Linked DNA regions of Homo sapiens: all the other regions are linked to region 3. The links are contacts of gene promoters, found by promoter capture Hi-C in blood cells and fetal thymus (Javierre and others, 2016). All regions are on one chromosome and are shown on one strand. The core of a region is centred on a gene start or on the middle of the fragment in contact, and the rest is flanking DNA. Distances in the headings are between cores, read along the strand shown.

Region 1 (4,072 bases), core at 314-2,813, 460 kb after region 3:
CGCGCCGTCCGATTGGCCAGGGCTGTCTCCAGGCCGCGGGGCTCAAAGCCTATTGGCCGCCGCCGCCACTCGTATGAGCTCATCCGCCGCGAGCGCTTGTAAACAACTGCGCGGGGCGAGGCTGGGGTGAGGCTAGGTCTCTCCGCCGCGCGTCCTGAGGAGTGGCTTTTGGCCCCTCAGCGTTTATTGACCGTTTGCGGAGCGTCTGCAGTGTGCTAGACCCACACTGCTCACAACCCCAGCTCCCCAACCTCCCCTGACACACACCGCGGGAAGAAGTCGTTTGAGGCATCTGAGCTTCAGAGAAGTTAAGCGATTTACCAAAGGCAATGGCAGGGGACAGATTTGAATTCACGTTTCTTAGATTCCAGAGCGCAGGCTTTTTGCTCCCAAAGCAGCAAGAGAGTTTTCTAGGTTTAAATGGGATAATCAAAATAAAGCATTTATTTTTTATTTTTTATTTTTTGAGACGGAGTCTCGTTCTGTCACCCAGGCTGGAGTGCAGTGGCGCAATTTCGGCTCACTGCAACTTCCGCCTTCCGCGTTACAGTGATTCTCCTGCCTCAGCCGCTTGAGTAGCTGGGATAACAGGCGTGCACCACCACGCCCAGCTAATTTTTGTATTTTTAGTAGAGACGGGGTTTCACCATGTTGGCCGGGCTGCTCTCTAACTCCTGACCTCAGGTGATCCGACCGTCTGGCCTCCCAAAGTGCTGGGATTACAGGCGTGAGCCACCGCTCCCGGCACAAAGTAAAACATTTTACCTAAGGACTGGCACAGAGCGTACGCTTAGATGTGAGCTGCTCAAAGGAAGCATGGGTTGTTTCCTGAAGTAGAAGTGGGGGGAATCCCCTGCAGAAGAACGCAACCGAGAGGGGCCTTGGGAAATAGCAAGGATTTGGACAGATAAAGACGTGGGAGGTAGGAGAGAAGCCCTTCCCTACGGCCTTCCTCTCTCATTTGCCTTGTCCCTGAGATGGTTCAGCCCTCTCAGGCCTGATCTTACCTCTGGGGCAGAATTTGACTTTGGGTTGTGTGTGGGGGGAAATTCTTAGGTGACCCACCTTCATCTACCCTAACACTCAGGCCAGGTTCAGCTGTGGAATTCACTCAGGGCAGTCCCTGATGAGAGCTGTTTCCCACCTCATCTCCAGAGACCACCTCCCAGGCCCTGCCAGCCTTCACGACAGAAATCCAGGAAGCGTCTGAAGGGCCAGGTGCAGATGAGGTGCAGGTGTTCGCTCCTGCCAACGCCCTGCCCGCTCGGAGTGAGGCGGCAGCTGTGCAGCCAGTGATTGGGATCAGCCAGCGGGTGCGGATGAACTCCAAGGAGAAAAAGGACCTGGGAACTCTGGGTATGACGGTCCCCCACCCCTGCCCTCGTTGGGATTCATCAAGAGATGTCATTTGCTGATTGTCTAGGGTGTGGCTAATGGGACCTTGTGTCCTATCCTTGGCAGGCTACGTGCTGGGCATTACCATGATGGTGATCATCATTGCCATCGGAGCTGGCATCATCTTGGGCTACTCCTACAAGAGGTCAGTAGCTTCTCTTCTGGGCCCTCTTAGGAGGAGGGGAGGAAGGTACACAAAGTCAAACTTTGTGGCTTTCTTACCCAAAAGGAAGCAAGATGTTGAAAATCAGCTCAAGATGTAGAGACTTGGTCCTAGTCTTTATCTGCTGACCTTGGACAAACCCTTTCCTTTGGTGCCTTTACACCTCACTTAAAAGCCTTGTGAGGGATGTTCTTGTTCCGCATTTTACAAATGAAGAAGCCTCTGTCAGAGACTTGCTCAAAGTCACATAGCCTAGGAGTGGCAGAACCTGGATTCAGACCCAGCTCTTTTGATAGCAAATTCCCTGCTGTCTGATCCCACATGCCTGGCATTGAAGTGAGTGGCACTGCAGAAATCAGGCTTGACACTGATTGCAGGGACCTTAAGACCAAATTCTTTCTGTGAGTTATAAAATTCTGCTACTAGAAAAGGTTTCCAGCCACTGTTGCAGTTGAGGCTTAAATTTCCTGAGCTATAAGCAGTGGGATCTCCTCTGCTAGGGAAGAAAAAAGTGAGTTGGAGAACAGAAAGTCTGTTTGCCACTCTTCACCACGTGTGAGAAAGCCAAAGAGGCTACTTGTGAAACTCAAGGACATGACCTGTGGCTGGGACAGCAGGAGAAGAATGCTTATTTTGAAAGGTCCCACGAGATGTCCGTCAGTGACTGGTGCATGATGGTAAGCCAGACTGGCATTCATCTTTACAGCACTGGCTGATTGTGGAAAATTATTTGCCATTCTTGGGCAAAATCGGGGGATTTGACTTCTAGCCCTGGGTGTCTGTAATATTCTCCTCTGTGGTCTGAGAAAACTTCCTGTGAGGAAAGTGACACAGTAGCCTGCATTTTTCCTTCCTTTCCTCCCTCCCTCCCTCCCTTCCTTCCTTCCCCTTTCTTTCCTTCCTTTCTTTGATTTTTTTTTTTCAGGGTCTCGCTCTATTGCCTAGGCTTGAGTGCAGTGGTGCGATCACGGCTCACTGCAGCCTCAACCTCCCAGGGCGCAAGTAATTACCCCCACCCACCCCCACTGAGTAGCTGGGACTACAGGCATGTCCCACCATGCCTGGCTGATTTTTAATTTTTTTATAGAGACAGGGTCTCACTGTGTTGCCCAGGCTAGTCTCAAACTCCTGGGCTCAAGCAGTCCTCCTACCTCAGCCTCCCAAAGTGTATAGGCATGAACCACCATGCCTGGCATGCAGCCTGCATTTTCCAGTGATGAGGGCCATGTCTGAGCCCACAGCCTCAGTGGATCACCCAGCAGGGCATCTTTAAAGGCCTTGTAGTCAACCTCCTCATTACAGATGAAAAAGGGGAAGTTTGGGTATAATAATAACAGCAGTAGCAAACATGTACCGTATGCCAGACACTGCTTGAAGCACATGCTTTAACTCATAATCACCCTTATGAGGTAAATGCTGTCATCTCCAATTTACAGATGAGGAAACTGAGGCAAGAGGGGATTATATACGTTACCTGAGGTTACACACCTAGCATTTGGTGGAGAGAAGTCCTTTAACTAGCTATCTCTGTGACCCTGGGCAAATTGCTTCAATTTCCTACTCCACATCATGGTGTGGAGCTATGGCTTTTGACTACTTAGCTCAGGGTGTGGCACATAGTAGGTGGTCAGTAAATGATGGCTGTTTTTCTTTTCTATAAAATGTGTGGCTGGGCGTGGTGGCTCACACCTGTAATCCTAGCACTTTGGGAGGCCGAGGCGGGCAGATCATGAGGTCAGGAGTTCGAGACCAGCCTGGCCAACATAGTGAAATCCTGTCTCTACTAAAAATACAAAAAATTAGCCAGGCGTGGTGGCGGGCACTTGTAATCCCGGCTACTTGGGAGGCTGAGGCAGGAGAATCGCTTGAACCTGGGAGGCTGAGGTTGCAGTGAGCCGAGATTGTGCCACTGCACTCCAGCCTGGGCGACAGAGCCATACTCCGTCTCAAAAAAAAAAAAAAAAAAATGTAGGTAATGGACCAGGCGTAGTGGCTCACACCTGTAATCCTAGCACTTTGGGAGGCAGAGGTGGGTGGATCGCTTGAGCCCAAGAGTTCGAGACCAGCATGGGCAACATGGCAAAACCCTGTCTCTACAAAAAAATACAAAAATTAGCCAGGCATGGTGGTGGGCGCCTGTAGTCCTAGTTACTAAGGAGGCTGAGATGGGAGGATCACCTGAGCCTGGGAAGTCGCTATGGTGAGCCATGATTGTGCCACTGCACTCCAGCCTGGGTGACAGAGTGAGATGCTGTCTCAAAAAAAAAAAAAAAAAAAAAAAAGTGGGTAATGGACTAGTACTCTCTGATTTCTTATGATGCAGGAAGCAGAGGTCCAGAGAGGGAAAGTATTGACTTGAGAGGACATCCTGACGCCCAGTCTGAGGTTGTTTCCCACAATGGGATGCTTGACATGCAGGTCCAGGGACACCTGCTTGTTCATTTCAGAGTTAATGACATAGTGGCCCTGGCCTTACAATTCATAAGCAGACCTAAGCCACATTGGCTGAGTTTA
Region 2 (4,072 bases), core at 1,434-3,933, 350 kb after region 3:
AGCAAAACGGAAAGAAACAACATCAGAACAGGAGCCAAACACTGGGAGGGGGAACGGACTAAGGGCCTAAGGTGCAGGGGTGCGGAACGCGGGCCCGGGCAAAGGGGAGTCCGAGAGCGTAGACGCGGGACGAGGGGAAAGGGGGCCCTGACTGAGGAGAGTCGGGGACTCCTAATCGTGGCAGAGGGCAGTCGGAACACGGGCCTCGCTGAGAGAAGTCGCGGAATCTAGGCCCGGTCCTGACGCGGCTCAAAGGAGAACAGGAAGGAGCGACGCCACCAAAGAAGGAATGCTCAGACTAAGAGTGAACCGCCAGCTGCGTCCATTACCTCTGCTTCTATCTCCGCGATCTTAGCTAAGGTGCTGCTCATCGTGGCGAGTACCCTGTGGCCTCCACACTGTCTCCCTTCACACACCCGCGGGCAAACTGCCACCGCCACCAGGCGCTACTGCAGCACGCAGGCGCGGTACTTCGAATTACCGCGAGAGAGTTCCGCGTAGGGGTCACCGCGAGTCGCAAAGCGTGGGGCTGTCTCCTCCCCCTCACCCGACCCCGCCCCGTCCCGCGAGCCAGTGCGGTGTCATAGAGCCCGCGGGAGCGGAGGCCAGAGAGGCCACCCCTGTCTGGGCCTCCCCGAGCGCGCCGAGGGTCGCGCGCAGCTCGGCCCCGCCCAGCGGGACCCGCTCCCAGCTGCTCTGCATGGTACTGAACGCTTCAGTGCTGGAGACCCCAGGGCGTGGTGCAAAGCCGACTCATGCTCCGCACCCCTGTTCCTCGCCAGCATCTGCGGGTCCTGGGTCCCTTTTTCACAGCTGGGGTGACACCCCGACGCCCTCCATGGTCTTGGAGGGAGTAGAGACCCATCTTCAGCCTGCCTCACCCCCTTGGATAAAGAAAATGCCCCCTTTCTATCATTCAAAATTATTTTTAGGTCGGTTTTGTTTACTCCGAACCCCGAGTAGAGCACATGGGGAGCCCAAAATAAGTGCATACTTGAATGGATAATTCCCAGAGAACTGCTGCTTGCAACATAGTTTGTAATACCAAAAAATTGAAATCTATATTAACACCCATCAGTAGGAAAATGGATAAATGAATAATGCCTCTATCCTGTTTTTGAAATATGATTACAGCCGTTAAAACGTAGATCTGTGGTCTGACTGGCTACCCAGGACATGTTAAATGGGAAAACAACTAGCAGAAGGGCACCTACGTAGTGATACCATTTATGTTATTTTTAAAATTAAATGTACATTTATATAGGTGTACGTGTATGAACGTGCAGTTTAAAGGCCTAAACAGAAAAATACATCAGAAGCTCTTAACTGTGGGATGGGATGCAAAGAAAAGGCCTTTCACATTTTATTCCACAGAATTTTGAAGTTAAATTTTTACAAGACGAATGTATCCATGTATTACTTGTGTAATAATAAAATTTAAAATTTCAAAAGACTCCTCTTCCCCAAGTGTCATGAGGAAGCCAGGACGTCCAGGAACTATGTGGTGGTTTTGAAAGCGGTTTGCCTCAGGATCAATGGGTTGTTTTGATAGATTGATTATTCCAGCGGGAGTCGACAGGCCAGGCTTAACCCACAGTCGACAGGCCAGGCTTAACCCACAGGGCTGGCCTCCACCCAGCCCTGGGAGGGAAGTTTAATTTAGTTAAATTTGTAAACAAGAACTATTCTAACTTCCCAGAGACAAAAAAGGGAGGTTTTCTTGTGCATAAAGAGGGAGAAACAGAAGGGAAAGCTTTTACAGAAGGTCCCCAAAGGGCCAAAGAGAGTTTCTTCTTTCTTTTCTTTAACCTCAGCCTTTTTCATAAATAAATTAAGGGATGATGAGGTAATTAGATCCCACACTATTAGCAATGGAGGAGGGAAGATGAGGAGGTCCAGCTGGAATGGGACATGATCAAAGATCAATCTTAAAAGACAGATAAAATCAAATCAGCAGGCCTATCCTAACTTGAAGTACTTAAGGAATTAATTGGCTGACAATATCAAGGGCATCACTGCTCTGTGAGTAGGTGCTCCTTAGCAAATCTATTATATGAGGCCTGCAGATAAGTTAACACTTACTGCTCAAAGACACCCTGGGACCCACCTTGGGGCCCTGAACTGTCAATAGGCACCAAAGAGTAATACTCATTTTCCCGAGTCCTGGGTGGCCATCCTGTTCATGCAATCGTTATTTACAGAGCTCCAACTGCTGCCTGGCACTGTGACAACACTGGGGACAGAGTAGAGAGTGAATCAGATATGTTCCTGCACATAACAAGTATTTAGGCCGGGCGCGGTGGCTCATGCCTGTAATCCCAGCACTTTGGGAGGCCGAGGTGGGTGGCAGATCACGAGGTCAGGAGATCGAGACCATCCTGGCTAATACGGTGAAACCCGGTGTCTACTAAAAATACAAAAAATTAGCCAGGCATGATGGCATGCACCTGTAGTCCCAGCTACTCAGGAAGCTGAGGCAGGAAAATCCCTTGAACCCGGGAGGCGGAGGTTGCAGTGAACCAAGAATGTGCCACTGCACTCCAGCCTGGCGACAGAGGGAGACTCAGTCTCAAAAAAAAAAAGTATCCAGGCTGGGGCTGGGCACAGTGGCTCACCCCTGTAATCCCAGCACTTTGGGAGGCCGAGGCAGGTGGATCACCTGAGGTCAGGAGTTCGAGACCAGCCTGGCCAGCATGGTGAAACCCCGTCTCTATTAAAAATACTAAAATTAGCCGGGCGTGGTGGCGGGCGCCTGTAATCCCAGCTACTCAGGAGGCTGAGCAGGAGAATCGCTTGAACCCGGGAGGCAGAGGTTGTAGTGAGCCGAGATCATGCCATTGCACTACAGCCTGGAGCCAGGACGACAAGAGCGAGACTCTATCTCAAGGAAGAAAAAAAAAGAAGTATCCAGGCTGGGAGGCCAAGGCCAGGACCTTAGGTTCAGCTCCTAAGAGCCATAGCTACCCCATGTCTGTTAAGTACCAACTGCAGCAAGGAGAGCCCATTTGGTCATATGAATAAAGCACTAGCACCTTGGTATTAAATGTGTAAAAAATAAATAGGCCGGGGACAGTGGCTCACAGTTTAATCCCAGTGCTTTCAGAGGTTGAGGTGGGAGGATCGCTTGAGGCCAGGAGTTCAAGACCAGCCTGGGCATTGAAGCCAGGAGTTCAAGACCTGCCTGGGCAACATAGGGAGACGCCCCATCTCTACAAAAAAAAAAAAATTAGCCGGTCTGCAAAAAATTTAAAAATTAGCCAGACGTGGTAGCACATACCTGTAGTCTGAGCTATGTGTGAGGCTGAGGCAGGAGGATCACTTGAGCCCAGGAGGTCAAGGCCACAGTAAGCCATGATCAGATCACTGCACTCCAGCTTGGGTAACAGCAAGACCCTGTCTCAAAAAAAAAAAAAAAAATTATTCAGGCTTGTTGGCCCGCACCTGTAGTCCTAGCTACTGGGAAGGCTCAGGCAGGAGGTTCACTGGAGCCCAGGACTTTGACGTTACACTGGGCTATGATCCCACCACTGCACTCCAGCCTGGGTGAAAGAGCGAGAAACTACCTCTAAAATAAATAATAAATAAGTAAAACAAAGATTGACAGAAAAGCTTCATCTCTTGATGAGACACTCCCACCATTCCAGAACAATTATATGTGGTCAAATACATAGGCTTTCTCGGGCACTGTTTTACTTCTCTTGACTCCCATTAAACCATGATCCCTGGCCAGGTTTGGTGGCTCACGCCTGGCTCACTCCCAGCACTTTGGGAGGCCAAGGCAGAAGGATCGCTTAAGCCCAGGAGTTTGGGACCAGCCTGGGTAACACAGCAATACCTCATCTCTACGAAAATAAAAAAAATTAGCTGGGTACAGGGGGCAACATGACGAAACCCCGTCTCTACAAAAAATCAGTGTGGTGGTATAATCTCAGCTACTCGGGAGGCTGAGGTGGGCCCAAGAAGACGAGGCTGCAGTAAGCTGTGATCATGCCACTGCACTTCAGCCTGGGTGACAGAGTGGGACCCTGTCTCAAAAAAACAAAACAGACAAAGAAGAAAAAAACAAAACAAA
Region 3 (3,671 bases), core at 295-2,794:
GGCAAATATTTTAACTTTTTAATTTGGCAACTCTCATAAAGAAACTCTGAAGGCCAGGAGTGGTGGCTCACGCCTGTAATCCCAGCACTTTGGGAGGCCGAGGCAGGCGGATCACTCGAGGTCAGGAGTTCAAGACCAGCCTGGCCAACATGGTGAAACCCTGTCTCTACTAAAAATACAAAAATTAGCTGGGCATGGTAGCATGCGCCTGTAATCCCAGCTACTCAGGAGGCTGAGGCTGGAGAATCTCTTGAACCTGGGAGGCAGAGGTTGCAGTGAGCCGAGATCCTACCACTGCACTCCAGCCTGGTGTCAGAACGTGGCCCCGTCTCAAAAAAAAAAAAAAGAAAGAAAGAAACGAAACTTTGAAGCATTCAATTTTTTTTTTTTTTTTTTTTTTTGAGACAGTGTCTTGTTTTGTTGCCCAGGCTGGAGTGCAGTGGGGGCACCATCATAGCTCAATGCAGCTTCAAACTCCTGGGCTCAAACGATCCTCCTGCTTCAGGCTCCCCAGTAGCTAGGAGCACAGGTGCATCAACACCTGAGCAATTTTTGTTTTGTTTTGAGAAAGAGTCTTGCTGTGTCATCCAGGCTGGAGTGCAGTGGCACTATCACTGCTCACTGCAGCCTCAACCTTCCAGCCTCAAGTGATCTTCCTGCCTCAGCCTCCAGAGTAGCTGGGATTACAGGCACACATCACCAGACCCAGCTGTTTGTTTTTTGGCAGAAACGATGTCTCACTATGTTGCCCAGGCTGGTCTCAAACTTCTGGGCTGAAGTGCTTCTCCCGCTTTCGCCTCCCAAAGTGCTGGATTACAGGCGTGAGACACCGCGCCTGGTCGATTTCTATTTTTTAACACAAAGCCGTATTATTTGGGGCAAGTCGATTTCATTATCTGGACCTCAATTCTTCCACTGGATAAACATTTCTTCCTTCCTTCAAATGTCCATTGAGCGTCTAGTTTTGTGCCGGACACTGCTCTTGGTGCTGAGCATTAAGTGATGAACAAAACAGACAAGGTGGAGGAAGATAAATGATAAACAAGTCAATAAAGAGATGAGACATAGAAATTTCAGCTAGTGTTAAAGCTATGAAGAAAATAAAACAAGGTTCTGTAACCAACTGGAGGCAGAGGTGCCATTTATTTAGTGGTCAGTGTGATTAGAAGAAGCAGAGGAGTGTCATGACCCAAAACACTCTTTCCAGTAGAATAAGATCTCTCGGGCTGCCAGAGTGGAAGCAGGCAGGCCCTTAGAATTGTAGCCGTCCAGACTAGAAAAACGGTGGACTGGAACAGGGTGACAGCAGCGAAGGCCGGCACTGGGTCCTGTGGCTCAGCAGGAGCAGAACCAAAAGTTGTGTTTCCCTTTAAGAGTTTGAGCCGCAGGGGCGGGGTTGAGGGAGGCTGGGGCTAGCAGAGGGCGGGAGGTCAGAATCAGGAAGAGCCTTCCCTTGGAGTGCGCGCGCGCGGTGCGGGGGCGGGATTTGGGCGAGTCCGCATGGCTGGCTCGGGCCCCGGATGAGGAAGTGCAGGGGGACCATAGAGACGAAGAGGTGGCGGCGGCCGGAGCGCCCCCGGCCTCTGTCGGCTCCGTAGGCTCAGGTAGACCTGGCGACGACGGGGCTGCAGCTGCAGGGGCTGAGCTGGCTGGGCAAGCGCGGGCCGCGGAGGAGGTCTCAGGGTAAGAGGCCGGGACTGGAAGGCTTCGGGCGTAGCCGCCCCGCCCCACTCCGCCCTAAAGGGACCCTCCGCCGGGTGGTGCTGCTAAAGGGGAGTCCAGGCCCCCCGCCCTCTCGGGGCGCGGAAAGGAACCAAGGCTGCCCTGTGGGCGGCGGAACGACCCAGGGAGAGGGAGGAGACCAGGCCCCGCGTCGCTAGAGAAAAGCGGCTTCTCCGAGTCATGGCTCCGACGCGGGAGAGAGACTCCTCTTCAACCTCGATACAACAGGGATCCCCCAACTTATCTCCTCGGAGAGGACGACGCCCCTTATCGGAGGCGTACGCTCTTTCTTAGCGCTCATCCGTTGGTCAGCAGAGGGAGACCCACTCCCAGGGTTCGAGGGGGATTCTGAACTTATCCTGAGGAGGAGTAAAAGATAACCCCTAAATGAGACCTTTCCCCCAACTTTGGTCAGCGTCACCCAGGTGAAGAGTGAGACCCAACTTGCCTGAAAGTGACAGAGGGGATCTTTCTTCCCAGTAAGAAAGAGACTTACCTTCCTCCTTTATTTTTCGCCTGTACCCCAAGATACGGAGAGGAAGACCTTGAAATTTTACTTTATGGTATCAGAAATCAACCTTTCTCCCTCTCCCCTCGTGATGTCCACAGAGAGACCCTCGCTTCTCTTCTTCCCTTTAAGCCTCTTGGTGTGCAGTGAGCTCCTTTCCCTTGCATTATTAAGAGCATGGCTTTTGGAGTGTAATCGTTGCAAACCTGGGTCTCTCACTTAACGTCTTTGTGACCTTGACTATTTGTTTAACTTGTCTGAATCTCAGTCCATCTCCAATTTGGGTTCTGTTTTCTTAGAATTGTCATGCGGGCTAAGGGAGCATTTGTGTAAATACTAGTTATATAGTAAGCTTTTGGTAAGCTGTTGCTATTACTATTACTTAATCTGTTAAAAAAGAAAACTAATATCTTGCACAGAGAAGCATATTTTTCCATGCATGCCCCTCGCAGCCTCCATCACAAGTGTTCAACCATCCTTTCTCACTGGAGTGGAAGACTCCCTCCCACTTAGGGGTTAGAGAAAGAGACACTTCCAGTCCCCTTAGATCCTGCTGTTCAATACTTTCCCAAATTAACAAAGAGGGCCTCACTGAAAATAATCAGTAAAAAAAAGACTTAGCTTTTGGAAACAGGTCTGTGCTCTTAAGAGAAAGTGAGACCTGATGCCAGACGCCAGCACTTCCTTTGTCCACAGAAGGTATCACTTCTTCCTGACTGGTTAGAGATGCCCTCTCCCACTTCCCTGACTTACTGTAGTGACAAAAAATCTTCCATCTGCACATCCTTCCCACCCCCCCAAGTGGGCGATTCCATATTCTTCCTGTCTTTTGCTCTCCCAAGAAAATGAAGACTCTATACCTTTGAGGAGAGATCTCTTCCCTCTTGTATATGGAAAATGACACAGATTGTTTCTTTTCTCCTTTTCCTTTATAAAACAGAGGAAAATCTTTTATACAGGAAGCCTCTGTCAGTAGAAATCAGGAGCATTTTCCAGTTTCACTCCTTACGTGGAGACAGGGATCCTTTTTCTGGATGTTATTAAAGGGAGGAAATGGGAAATAGTCCTTGATGCTTTAGAGATTTTCTGCACGCTCCATGTTGAAGCGCTTGCCCTGTTTAGTGTATGAACTTCCCTGCCTCACTTTTGGTTTGTCTTGGGATTTTATTAAAAAACTCTTCTTTCTTTGTTTCTCAAGAAGAGGCCCATTCTCCAAATTCCCTCTTGGAGGGAATGGCTACAATGTCTGAATCTTTGGAAAAGAAAGCCCCTTTCTCAAGGTGAAAAGAGTGTTGTGAGCTTCTGAGGGCCTGGTCATTATTGTGAGTATTGTTCCTGAAGCAAGCATGGCAGCGCCTAGTGTTATTAACAGCCCCTATGCATTGGAATTAAAGGGAGGGGAGACTTTCAGATTCGGGATTATTGAGGCACACGGTTTTAT

What was found. Contacts are between HindIII fragments. The CHiCAGO score rates a contact against its expected background, and 5 or more counts as called.
Region 1: a contact is called between a fragment that was not itself captured here and the fragment with the promoter of PRR14L in region 3, in 2 of 17 cell types (fetal thymus and naive CD4 T cells). The highest score is 5.2, in fetal thymus.
Region 2: a contact is called between a fragment that was not itself captured here and the fragment with the promoter of PRR14L in region 3, in 2 of 17 cell types (monocytes and non-activated CD4 T cells). The highest score is 5.3, in monocytes.

What each region holds. Positions count from the first base shown.
Region 1 is chr22:31,286,783-31,290,854 of GRCh38, reverse strand. PIK3IP1 (phosphoinositide-3-kinase interacting protein 1) reads left to right here. Exons shown (of 6, transcript NM_052880.5): 4 at 1,156-1,356; 5 at 1,462-1,540. Among named protein-coding and RNA genes, the nearest start is that of PIK3IP1, 3.7 kb to the left of the region's middle. RefSeq lists a silencer at 1-124 and enhancers at 175-374, 1,522-1,571. The HindIII fragment of the contact is 5,705 bases long and covers 1-4,072 here.
Region 2 is chr22:31,395,983-31,400,054 of GRCh38, reverse strand. DRG1 (developmentally regulated GTP binding protein 1) reads right to left here and starts at 451. Exons shown (of 9, transcript NM_004147.4): 1 at 330-451. The coding sequence starts at 371. RefSeq lists enhancers at 342-391, 1-424 and a silencer at 512-791. The HindIII fragment of the contact is 1,856 bases long and covers 1,756-3,611 here.
Region 3 is chr22:31,748,005-31,751,675 of GRCh38, reverse strand. PRR14L (proline rich 14 like) reads left to right here and starts at 1,544. Exons shown (of 9, transcript NM_173566.3): 1 at 1,544-1,683. RefSeq lists enhancers at 1,319-1,613, 1,103-1,662, 1,902-2,534. The HindIII fragment of the contact is 5,796 bases long and covers 1-2,584 here.